Linked DNA regions of Homo sapiens: region 1 is linked to region 2. The links are contacts of gene promoters, found by promoter capture Hi-C in human tissues and cell types (Jung and others, 2019). All regions are on one chromosome and are shown on one strand. The core of a region is centred on a gene start or on the middle of the fragment in contact, and the rest is flanking DNA. Distances in the headings are between cores, read along the strand shown.

Region 1 (6,362 bases), core at 1,626-4,125, 39 kb before region 2:
CTCACTGCAACCTCCACCTCCAAGGTTCAAGTGATTCTCATGCTTCAGCCTCCTCAGTAGCTGGGATTACAGGCATGCGCCAACACGCCCAGCTAATTTTTGTATTTGTAATAGAGATGGGGTTTCACCATGTTGGCAAGGCTGGTCTTGAACTCTTTACCTCAAGTGATCCGCCCGCCCCAGGCTCCCAAAGTGTTGGGATTAGAGGTGTGAGCCACCACGACCAGCTTCCATCCCTTTCAACATCAGCAGCATGGCTGGGCACCGTGGTGCACACCCGTAGTCCCATTTACTCTGGAGGCAAGAGGATAACTTGAGCCCAGGAGTTCAAATCCAGCCTGGACTACATAGCAAAACCCCAGTCTCTAGTTTAAGAAGAAAAAATTCAGCAAAGTAAAATTAAGCAACTCTGAAAAGGAGGTTGAATAGTGTTTTCCTCCATCTCAAGTGCTGATCCTAGATAGATGTCTCAAGCACTTCTCATTCATTTCAGAGCCCAACAAAGAATGCTAGTCTCCTACTAATTCGCATCACTAACCTCTGCACATGTAGCACAAACCGGAATCATTACACAGCTGAAGTTTTGGCTATAATTAAATAAGGGATTTTTAAATAAAGCTGTGGTATTCCTATTGGCATTATAGGCCACCTCTTTTCTCAGCCATGGTATATCCCAAAGTATACCAGGATGGGTCTAGGGATGCATGGAAAAAATGCGATTGAAGACTCAGAATTGAACTGAAGAATGGATGGAAAAACAAGAATTGTTATCAAAAGCTCAATTAAAAGTAGCATTTAGGAATAGCTTAAAGAATAGTCTCTCTGAGCCACAGGGTATTCTAAAGTTAACCCAGATCGGCCGGGCATGGTGGCTCATGCCTGTAATCCCAGCACTTTGGGAGGCCAAAGTGGGTGGATCACTTGAGGTCAGGAGTTTGGGACCAGCCTGGCCAACATGGTGAAACCCTGTCTCTACTAAAAATACAAAAATTAGCTGGGTATCATGGCGGGCGTCTGTAACCCCAGCTACTCAGAAGGCTGAGGCACCAGAATCACTTGAACCTGGGAGGTGGAGGTTGCAGTGAGCCGAGATTATACCACTGCATTCCAGCCTGGGCGACAGAGTGAGACTCCATCTCTAAATAAAAAAATTAATTAATTAATTAAATTAAATTAACCCAGAGCAAGCCAGGAGATGGGGAAGCTGCTTACTCAGTCCTCACAGTCTCAATTGTTTTATAGCATTGCATTTACTTGCTTTATCTTCAGCATTGGAAATTCTGTGAAACGCTTTGTTGTGTCTGTTGTGAGGAAACAATAGGTGATTACATTTCCTAGTTTCAGTCACCCTAAATCTTTTGAGACAAAAACAGTATTGCAATGTAGAAAATTTGTCAGTAATTAAAAGAACAAAATTAAAGTCACCTGTAATGCCAGTACCTAAAAATAAACATGATTCAATCAATATTTTGGTATGGATCTTTCAAGTTATTTTTCTATGTGTACCTATTTATTTTTTAGACAGTTGGAATCAGACTATTTTGTAACTCCCCTCCCCACTTAATGATTTGGGTCTTACTTCTTATCCTATTTTCAACCTTTACCTATGGTTCTCTTTTCCCTTTCACCCTTAATTTTAACATATTCTGTGTAGCTGTTTAACTATATATCCTAATAGCTGCCTTAATTCTTTGAAAATGACAGGATGTTAATAAATACTTTACATTGAAAGCAATGAGAAGATATTGAAAGATTTTAAACAGAGTAGTGGCAATATAAGACTTTACTTAAGTAGACGACACTGTGTGGAAGGCCGGGGAGGACGCAAGCAGCTGGAGAGAGGGAGAGCAGTTATTTTTCTATAAATTCATGCAGGAAATGCTGTTGGCGTTTACAGTGTCTGAGGAGAGGCAGCTCTGGGTTATGTGAAGTGCAGAGTGTGGCCATGCAGTGGGTCACTCAAGTACCCAGCTTGAAGAAATAAAAATACATAGAATTAAAGGAAGTCAAGAAGGCTTGGAAACATGAACACAGGCATCCCAAGTTAATGGTAGGACCGGGAGGACAGCAAGAATTGGGACATCTTAGTGAATGTCAGGGAGGAGCAAGGCGACCAAGTCCTCAGTGAATGTCATGGGGAGTTTGCAGTGATACAAGGGGAATAATCCTGAAAGGAAATAAAAGGAGATAAAAATATCCACTACTCCTTTCTCATAGTCCTGTGGTATCTGAGAATAGAATATCAAATAGTCTTCCCCTGTGGGTGCTGAAAGGAGATTATTCCCTTGGAAAAGCCAGATTTATGTATTTATTTAAGATTCAGGGGGTACACATGCAGGATTGTTACAATACATACACTGTGGGATGCTGAGGCTTGGGCTTCAGTTGAACCTGTCACCCAAATAGTGAACACAGTACCCAATAGGTAGTGTTTCAACCCTTGCTCCACTCCCTCCCCACTTTTGGAGTCCCCAGACAATATCATGCCCATCTTTACATCCATGTGTACCCAATATTTAGCTCCCACTTATATAAGTGAGAACATGTGGTATTTGGTCTTCTGTTCCTGCATTAATTTACTTAGGATAATGTCCTCCAGCTACATCCATGTTGCTGTAAAGGAGATGATTTCGTTCTTTTTTATGGCTGCACAGTATGCCATCATGTATATGTGCTACATCTTCTTGATCCAATCCACTGCTGATGGACATCTAGATTGATTCCCTGTCTTTGCTGTTGTGAATAGTGCTACAATAAACATATGAGCGCAGGTGTATTTTGGTAGAACGATTTGTTTTCCTCTGGGTATATACCCAGTAATGGGATTGCTGGGTTGAATGGTAATTCTATTTTTGTTTTTTGGGAAATCTCCAAACTACTTTCCGCAGGGGCTGAACTAATTTATAATCCCACCAACAATGTGTGAGCATTCCCTGGAAAAGCCAGAGTTAAATTAAGATCAATTAAGATCAAGAATTTAGTGAAAAGATATTTATAGTCTTCATACTTTGTATTCAGTAAAAAGATAAAAGGTGTGGGATGATTTATTTAGATGGAATGGAAATTCCAAAGGATCAGGGACAGGGTTAGGTGGGGAGTGCAGCAAAGGGGAAGAAATGCAGGGCAGTCTGAATGAGTGCAGGCAAAGTCGCATGGCCGAAGGGCCACACTGGAGGCCACAGTGGCTTAGGCCCTAACTGGGTTAGGTTAGGGGCTAGGATTACAGCTGGAACTCTGGTCATGAACATTTCAGAATGAAGCAGCGAGTGGTGTTGAGGCTTGACTGTGTTGCTGTTTATGGTTTACTAAGGAGACTGTGTCGCTTCGTTCCATATTTCAAATAAACTAGTGATGCAGATTGTCTTGGGACTCAGGAAAGCTTAGCTCAGTGGGTCTGTTAGGCCAGCACCAGGCCCACCAGTGGGTATGTAAGGTCTCTGGCAGCACCATGGGGAAGCTCAGACAGGCCTGTACCCCACAATCCATCTCCTGTACCTAGATGGGTGGTCAGGACCTTGGCAGGGTGTAAAGGCAGACGTTCACAGACCTCTAGCACACAACAGAATCTAGTGAATGAAGAAGCTTCTCTCCCCAACAAGTGTGAAAACAGTGATGTGAGAGCCACAGCGCCTGAAGAGTTCAGAGGAAGGGAACCACCAGCTCTCTGTGTGCCAGCTAGCCCCTGGGTTGCGGGCTTTACACATGTTATCCCATTAATTCCAGCCCCACGAAGTTAAGTGTCACACTTAACTTGGTAGGGGATGGAAATTTGGAGAGATGGCACATGAAAGCTAGTAAGTGACTGAATCAGGATTCAAAACCATGTAGGTTTAGCTCCGTAGCCCATATTCTTTCCACTATGCCAGGTGGTCTCTGATCTAATCAGTACTTATAGTGATCCTCACCCCATTTTAGCTTTCTGATTTCTGATAACCAGTGGATCCAATTATGTGTGAGGCAGCGTAGCATAATGGTTAGGACATAGACTCTGGGGATCGACAGCCTGGCAGAAAGGCCCAGCACTGTGGTTTGTATTCTGTGGGACTTTGCACAAGTTACATACCTTTAGTTTCCTCATCTTTAAAATGGAGATAATAATAGTACCTCTCCTATATGGTTGTTACAAGGATTAAGTAAGCCAATATTTGTAAAGCATTTAGAACAATGCTTGTTATGTAGTAAATGGTATGTAAATGTGTATTAAATATTAAAAAAATTAAAAATCATTAGATTGACCATGGGAGTCAAAATAATACAAAGGGTTAACATCAATATTGCCACCTGAAATGTACTTCTGCTCCTTACAGGATGAACTCAACTTTGGTTGGTCAGATGGGAAACGTCTTCATTTTAGTCGCTGGGCTGAAACTAATGGGCAACTCGAAGACTGTGTAGTATTAGACACTGATGGATTCTGGAAAACAGTTGATTGCAATGACAATCAACCAGGTGCTATTTGCTACTATTCAGGAAGTATGTGAATTTCAGATCTTTTAATTCTTAAATTATTAACAGTCCCATAAGTGGTAGAATTTCTGAGGAGTGGTTTTATAAAATCTGGTTTTGGAATTGTGAAGAAATTATAGTCATGTCTTTTTATGGCAACATTTGTTGTGAAAATTTGTATTCAAGTAGAATTATATATTACATATATTATTATTAATGGGTCATTTTAGGCATGTTTTATTTTTATGTCAGCTGACAATGGGGATTAACACTTAAAATCCCATTGTTACTCTACCTCTTTCTGCATATATTTATAGTTGTAGAAAGCTTACATTTGTGAGAATTCTTTTGTGATTCATAATATCACAACTAACAGGACTTTTATGAGTCTTAAGATTCACAGCAACCACCTCAAGCTAGCTTAAGACAAGGGGAAATTTAGGATCCCCAAAACGGGGATAGAGCTGAACCTATAACTGGAGATGAGTTGACAATTTCTAAATTTCACTTTGTAAATCCCTAGAGAACATCTCATGAACTTAGCCTGAGTCAGGTGTGCAGTCTCTAGCCCAGTCAGAGGAAAGTGTTTTTACAACTGGCAAGGTCACATTTGTGGGTCTGTGGTAGAAAGAAGACACTGCTTCATGGACAAAGGGACTTATTGTGATCCAGGAGAGATACTGAGTGATCTCTGCCACATATTAAATCAGTTTAATGTATTTGAGTGGAATATGTTTATATTTGTATCTTTGTGAATGTATGGCCTTTTCATAAAATGGAAAAAGATCATAATCAGATACTGTAGATGTCAGATTTTAAATATTATTTTTGTTTGACTTGGTTAAAGCAATAACTTATTTAGAACATCAATGTTTCATTTAAATGTTCCTTTAAAATTAATAGTATCAGTAGACAGAAACTTTAAAATAAATTCTCAGAGTTATAGTTAGGTGACTTTTAATAATGAATATGTTTGTACAGCATCTCTAGGGGTGGTCCCTTGTACTTGACATTTGGTAATGCAGGAAGACAGAAACTGCATTTAACCTAATAGCACCTCATTTTTTACATTCTTCCATGCCACAGCAGGGGTAAGAAAATTGTGTCAAGTAATTTCCTTCCTATAGAAAGCTGGCTTTTTGTGTGCTATATCTGAGTATAAACAGAGACAGGCTTCACCAGGATATTACTTCTCGGCTTCCTGAATATTTCCTACAAATCAAGCCTAATGACTGCAAACAGGATTTAACATTTATATCTCAAATTAGAATTCTTACCATTAACTCTTTTTCTAGATGAGACTGAAAAAGAGGTCAAACCAGTTGACAGTGTTAAATGTCCATCTCCTGTTCTAAATACTCCGTGGATACCATTTCAGAACTGTTGCTACAATTTCATAATAACAAAGAATAGGCATATGGCAACAACACAGGATGAAGTTCATACTAAATGCCAGAAACTGAGTAAGTATTATATTAGTCCATTCTCATGTTGCTATAAGGACATACCCGAGGCTAGGTAATTTATAAAGAAAAAGAGGTTTAATGGCCTCACAGTTCCACATGGCTGGGGAGGCCTCACAATCATGGCAGAAGGCAAAGGAGAAGCAAAGACATGTTTACATGGCAGCAGGCAAGAGAGCATGTGCAGGGAAACTGCCCTTTGTAAAACCATCAGATCTCATAAGACTTACTATCACGAGAACAGCACGGGAAAAACCCACCCTCAAGATTCAATTACCTCCCACCAGGTCCCTCCCATGACATGTGGGGATTATGGGAGCTACAATTCAACATGGGATTTGGATGGGGAAACAGCCAAACCATATCAAGTATATTATACTGTCATTACTTATTGTATTTTGCTAATTAAAAAAATATTTCCTGTGTTATAAATATTTCTAATTAGCACTAGTA
Region 2 (6,079 bases), core at 1,087-3,586:
GCAGCCTGAGAAGAAAAATGGAAGTAAATAAGTTAAGCAAGACCTTAATACTTTGGCAAAGGGGCAGAACCTGGAATAGGTGGGAGAGTCCAGCAGAGGAGCTGGGCTCTGGTTCATTTGTTGGCATTCTCTGTGAGCCCACGGGGGAATCACATCCCTTCTTTGGGTCACTCAATTTCCTTACTAGTACCACTTCTAACACTCTATGACTCTCCTTATAGACCCCTTGGGTCAAATTTCCTTGGTGTAACCACTCTGGATTATCAGAAGTGTGGAAAGGGTTAGAAAGAGTTGGAAAGGGTCAGATTTTATTTTTTTAAAAATAGACTAATTTTTGAGCAGTTTTAGATGTATACAAAAAATGTAGCAGAAGGTACAGAGCTCCCATGTACCTCCTTACACATACCCCAGTTTCCCCAATTATTAACATCTTGCATTAGCAGGTACATTTGTTACAGTGGATGAGCCAATATTGACACATTATTAACTAAAGTCCATTGTCCACACTAGGGTTCATCTTCGTTTTGTGCATTCTATGGGTTTTGACACATGTATAGTGATACACATCTACCATTACAGTATCCTACAGAATAATTTCATGGCTCTAAAAATCCTCTGTGTTCCATCTATTCATCCCCTCCTTCTTCCCACCCCAACCCCTGGCAACCATTTATCTTTTTACTGTCTCCATAGTTTTGCCTTGTCTAAAATGTCATATAGTTGGAATCATATAGTATGCAGTCTTTTCAGATTGGCTTCTTTCTCTTAGCAATACATATTTAAAGTTCTTCCATGTCTTTTTGTGGCTTGATAGCTCATTTAATTTTGGTACTGAGTAACATTTCATTGTTTGGATGTGCCATTGTTTATCCATTCACTTATTGAAGGACATCTTGTTTGCCTCTAGGTTCTGGCAATTATGAATAAAGCTGCTATCAACATTCATGTGCAGGTTTTTGTGTGTATGTAAGTTTTTAACTCATTTGGATAAATACCAAGGAGTTGTGATTGCTAGATGGTATGGTAAGAGTACGTTTAGTTTTGGAAGAAGCTTCCAAATTGTCTTCCAAAGTGGCTGTACCATTTTGCATTTGCACCAGCATTGAATGAGAGTTCTTTTTGCTCCACATCTTTGCCAGCATGTGGTCTTGTCAGTGTTTTTGGATTCTGGTATCTAATAGGTATGTAGTGGTATTTCATTTTTGTTTTCATATACAATTCAGCAATGACATATGATGTTGAGCATCTTTTCATCTATTTGCCATTATATAACTTCTTTGATGACGTGTGTATTCAGATCATCTGACCATTTTTTTTAACTGGGTCATTTGTTTTCACGTTGTTGAGTTTAGACTTGATTTTATAGAACTCTTTTGCCAATGACATGAGGCTTAAACAAGCACCCTTGCTTGACCCTGGCTAGTGTTGTCCAGAGGCCCTCATGGGTGAAGTATAATTGCACAGTTTATGCATACATTGTAGCAAACATAGCTTAAAGACTCTTCATCCAGGAGCTGGTAACAGAGAAAAGTTGTCTAAGAGACATAGTCCACTGAAAGGGGTCTTTGAAAAGGAGGATTCTGGCCAGTAGATCCAAAGAAGAAGGCTGGCAAACGCCACCTTAACCAACTGATCCAAGTTAACATCAGTGATGAGACATCGACATCTTGTCCTTCTCGAGCACGTACATCACTTCTGGGGAACTCTTTCCCAAAAAAGCGCAACCTGAATCCAATTAGAAGGAAATGTCAGACAAAATGAAACTGAGGGACATTCTACAAAACGACTGGCCAGTACTTTTTAAATGTGGTTTGATCGTGAAAGAAAAAGAATGACAGAGAACCGTCCTAGATTAAAGGGAGACTAAGGAGACACGACATGCAATGTATGATCCTGGATTGAATCTTGGAACAGAAAAGGACCCTTAGAGGGGCAATTAATGAAATGTGGTAAGTGCTGTAGATTAGCTAATCGCATTATCCCAGTGCGAGTGCCCTGTGTTTGATCACTGCACTGGCGTTATATACAATGTCAATATTTAGAGAAGCTGGCTGAAGGGTTACGGAAATCTCTTGTGCTGTTTTTGCAACATTTTCGAAAGTCCTAAATTATTTCAATTCAAATGAAAAGTTTAAAAAACAAAAATTAGAAGTTCCAGAAGGCCGCGCGCCAGCCGCTCCTGCGGGACGGGACACCCGGGTTCTCCTGGTGGGAGCCCCCAGTGCCGTTCACGTTCCGCCCGGGGGGGGGATTAAACTCGCACGCGAGAAGCACCGCCCCCGCTCCCGCCCCGCCCCGCTCCTCTCCGGCCGCGCAGCCGCTGCCGCCCACCCGCACCCGCCGTCATGCTCCGGGCCGCGCTGCCCGCGCTCCTGCTGCCGTTGCTGGGCCTCGCCGCTGCTGCCGTCGCGGGTAAGCCCTTACGTAGTCCCTCGCCGGGACCGTGCGCGACCGCCTTCGCCCCCTTCCCAACGCACGCTCTTCGTCCCCGCGCACCCGAGGGCGGCCCGCAGACGCAACACCCGGCCGGCCATCCCGCCCTTCCCTGCACGCCCGTCCCCCGTGGGTCCTGGCTCCGGGTCACCTCTCACCCGCCTGCCCTCGGGGAGGGGAGGTGGCCGAGAATAAGGGAGGGCTCTGTCTTCCTCGGAGTCCACATCCTCACCGCAGACCCCACTCCGCGGGGAGGGAACCCCCAAATTAGGCCAGTTGGCCGGAGAACTGAGGGACTTGGAGTCGCACGACGGGCGCCGTTTCAGGGCAATTTCGGGCTGAAATGAGAAGCGGGGACGTTGGTGGCGATTTCCCCTGCTGGTGCGCGGCCGGAGTGGGGTTGCTGGGATGGGGGTGGGGGCCGGAGGAAGTAGGCCCTCTTTTGCAAGCAGCGCTGTTTGTCTAGTTGGTTGGTGTTCAAGTTGTTTAAACAGGAAAACAGTTCAGCCAAATAACCCCTGGATGGAAGAGGAACGGGAATAGGCAAAGCTTGGATTTCACTGAAATCAAGGAGTTTTAAAGTTCTAGTCTGCTGTTGTGCAAGTGACATCTGAAAAATCACACACGTGATCATTCATTTACAAAACGACTCGTGAGGAAAATGCACAATTCTATTGACCGTGGTCTTTATTTTTAAAAAATTTCCATACAAGCATGTCAAAAATATGTGGATGGGGAGACTCTGGAGAACACAGACTTCCAAAAACACCACTGACTGAATAATTCCAGGAATTAAAGAGCAAAATAAACAAGAACTAAATGAGTACTTGTGTGGGCTTAAATAAAGTGCAAGAGATTTAAATAAAATGCAAGAGATTCCCCCCCCCCACCCCTTGCCCCAGATTTCACTGCGTTTTTATAATAACTGCCTGCTCGAAGTCTACTGACAGGAATATTTCAGTGGACCTCAGTGTTGGAGGCAGCAGCAGCTCAGAACTTGGATACAAACCCAAGGTTCCTTTCTTGAAAACTTCTGTGGACCTGCATTTATGACTGGTTGTGACATCTGCTGCCTATCAAAGGGGCAGAAACAAGATGTGCCCATGTTCACATTGTTCAGACTGGGAACATTAATTTTGTCTAAGACAAAGCTGGGCTGTCTCTGAACCCTCCTTCTGCACACCCTCATTTTGCGAGCCAGTAACATCTCAACTCTCATGTAAACCACCCTCTGCGAGGCTGTGCATTTGTACTTTAGGCTAGTCGAATTTTCTTGTCAGATTTTTCTTTCTTGTCAGACTTTTAAAGAAAATCAGTTTCTAGATTTTGGTATGTCTCTTCTTCAGTGAAGCTGTTTTGACCAGCAATAGAGGGCAAATTTCCCTTTGGAAATTTTTGTGCATTTCCTTTGATAAGTCCAGTGTGGATCAATAGGCTTTTCAAGAGCTTTAGAAAAGTGCATGATGAATAAATTAATGTTAATTAATCAGCTCCTCCCAGTCAGGAAGCTTTAAGGATTAATTTGGAAATGAGTGTGAGCTTTGACCTAGCTAGTTAACCAACTTATCTGCACTTCAGTAAAACAGAGATAATACTTACTCATGGGGCTATTGGGAGCATTAAGTGGGAACTCCACGTCTAGTCCCTATTACAGGCGTGGTTCATCTTGGTTTCCTTCCCTTTATTCTCTTCATACAAAATGAAGGGTAATTGTTGCAACCAGAAAACGTATGAATACCACCTTATGTATATTGGATGTTTATGGTTACTGAACACATTCATATGTATGCTAATGTTATAGGGCTGAAAAACTAAGTGTGTTTTTCATAATACTTTACAAATCTCCCATCCAAGCAAGATCAGGGGTCATATTTGGCTTAGAACTAAGTCAAGAAAGAGTTTGTTGCTGAATACCAAGATCTTAATAGAAAAGCTCTTATGATGTTGCATAATAAATATGGGTATTGCATATAAATGTGATGTTGAAACGGAAATCATTGTTATTGTCTGTCATTCTGGAGGTTATTAGTGAAGTGATCTTAACCTTGTTCTTAGCTATTATTTTGAAAATCACAGTGGACAAAACATTCTTTAAATTCCTGAGTGAAAATCCATGGCATCGCTTTAAAAAGTTTTTCCGTAAGGGTGCTTAAGCACATAATAGATGATCAGTATGTATTTATTTGGTCAGTGGTTTCCTATGCCTGGCATGAGCTGAGTGAACAAGCATGTTCCGAGTAAGTCCTCATTCTGTGATCATCATGTGGATCAGAATCTAGGGATTTTGAATTGCCATGTCCTACAAGCCTTAGATGAGGTGCCTCTGCCTTCTTCCCTGATGTCATCTCTTACCACCCTTCCTGCCATTCACTCTGTGTATCCACAGAGTAAACAGTATCTGGGTACTCCAACACCTCTGGTCCTTCTGTGCACACCACCTTCCCCCAGTCCTTGGCATGGCTGCCCCCACCTCCACCATTCAGATCTCTGTTCATATGTCACCTTCTCCGAAGCCTCCCTGAACACCCACATTCTCTGTCACATGTCCATGTTTTATCTTTTCCAAGCCTTTCTGAATGCATTGTGTTTATTCATCTGTCTTGCTTGTTGCTTCTCTTACCAGGGGAAAGAAGCTCCATAACAGAGATTTTACCATCTTGTGGATTTTTGTTTTGTTTTGATTTGTGTCTCTGCACTTTATTCTAAGTTATAATAAAAGGATGAAAAAATTTAGGTGAGTTATTTAAAAAGTAGGTAGGATAAGTGGATTGCAATTTTTTTCAAATTATATTACCTCTGCTATGCACTCATTTCATAATGAATTCAAAGCCTTAAATCATCTTAATCTATTGCTGCCACCTTTTCTTTCTTTCTTTTTTTTTTTTTCCGAGATGGAGTCTCACTCTGTCACCCAGGCTGGAGTGCGGTGGCGCAATCTCGGCTCACAGCAACCTCTACCTTCTGGGTTCAAGCAATTCTCCTGCCTCAGCCTCCCGAGTAGCTGGGATTACAGGCATGCGCCACCATGCCTGGCTAACTTTTGTATTTTTAGTAGAGATGGGGTTTCACCATGTTGGCCAGGCTGGTCTCAAACTCCTGGCCTCGTGATCTGCCCACCTCGGCCTCCCAAAGTGCTGGGATTACAGGTGTGAGCCACCGTGCCCGGCCTGATGCCACCTTTTCTGACTCTTGTGTATGGCACAGTTATGTTTCAGGGGAAATTATCTCAGATTAAATATTAGAGTATTTTAAAATAAATTTTGAGCTGGGCGTGGTGGCTCACGCCTGTAATCCCAGCACTTTGGGAGGCCGAGGCGGGTGGATCACGAGGTCAGGAGATCGAGACCATCCTGGCTAACACGGTGAAACCCTGTCTCTACTAAAAATACAAAAAATTAGCCGGGCGTGGTGGCAGGCACCTGTGGTCCCAGCTACTCAGGAGGCTGAGGCAGGAGAATGGCGTGAACCCAGGAGACAGAGCTTGCAGTGAGCTGAGATCGCGCCACTGCACTCCAGCCTGGGCGACAGAGCGAGACTCAGTCTCAAAATAAATAAATGAATAAATAAATAAATAAATAAATAAATAAATTAATTAATTTTGAAATGTTAATGTTTATTTTTCTTCCAATGAAAAAGTGAAATTTCA

The links. The method cuts DNA at HindIII sites, captures the fragments that hold promoters and counts their contacts. A contact is called where the count stands out against the background at its distance.
Region 1: a contact is called between a fragment that was not itself captured here and the fragment with the promoter of CD302 in region 2, in 1 of the 25 tissues and cell types used here (lymphoblastoid cells).

Annotation. Positions count from the first base shown.
Region 1 is chr2:159,833,591-159,839,952 of GRCh38, reverse strand. LY75-CD302 (LY75-CD302 readthrough) reads left to right here. Exons shown (of 38, transcript NM_001198760.1): 26 at 4,308-4,473; 27 at 5,742-5,909. LY75 (lymphocyte antigen 75) reads left to right here. Exons shown (of 35, transcript NM_002349.4): 26 at 4,308-4,473; 27 at 5,742-5,909. Among named protein-coding and RNA genes, the nearest start is that of CD302, 39 kb to the right of the region's middle. The HindIII fragment of the contact is 5,948 bases long and covers 1-5,849 here.
Region 2 is chr2:159,794,465-159,800,543 of GRCh38, reverse strand. CD302 (CD302 molecule) reads left to right here and starts at 2,336. Exons shown (of 6, transcript NM_014880.5): 1 at 2,336-2,412. The coding sequence starts at 2,346. The region is part of intron 33 of LY75-CD302 (LY75-CD302 readthrough); the gene reads left to right. It overlaps LOC124906083 (a long non-coding RNA gene), which reads right to left and starts at 5,354. Exons shown (of 2, transcript XR_007087273.1): 1 at 2,592-5,354; 2 at 292-1,725. The HindIII fragment of the contact is 5,989 bases long and covers 1-3,462 here.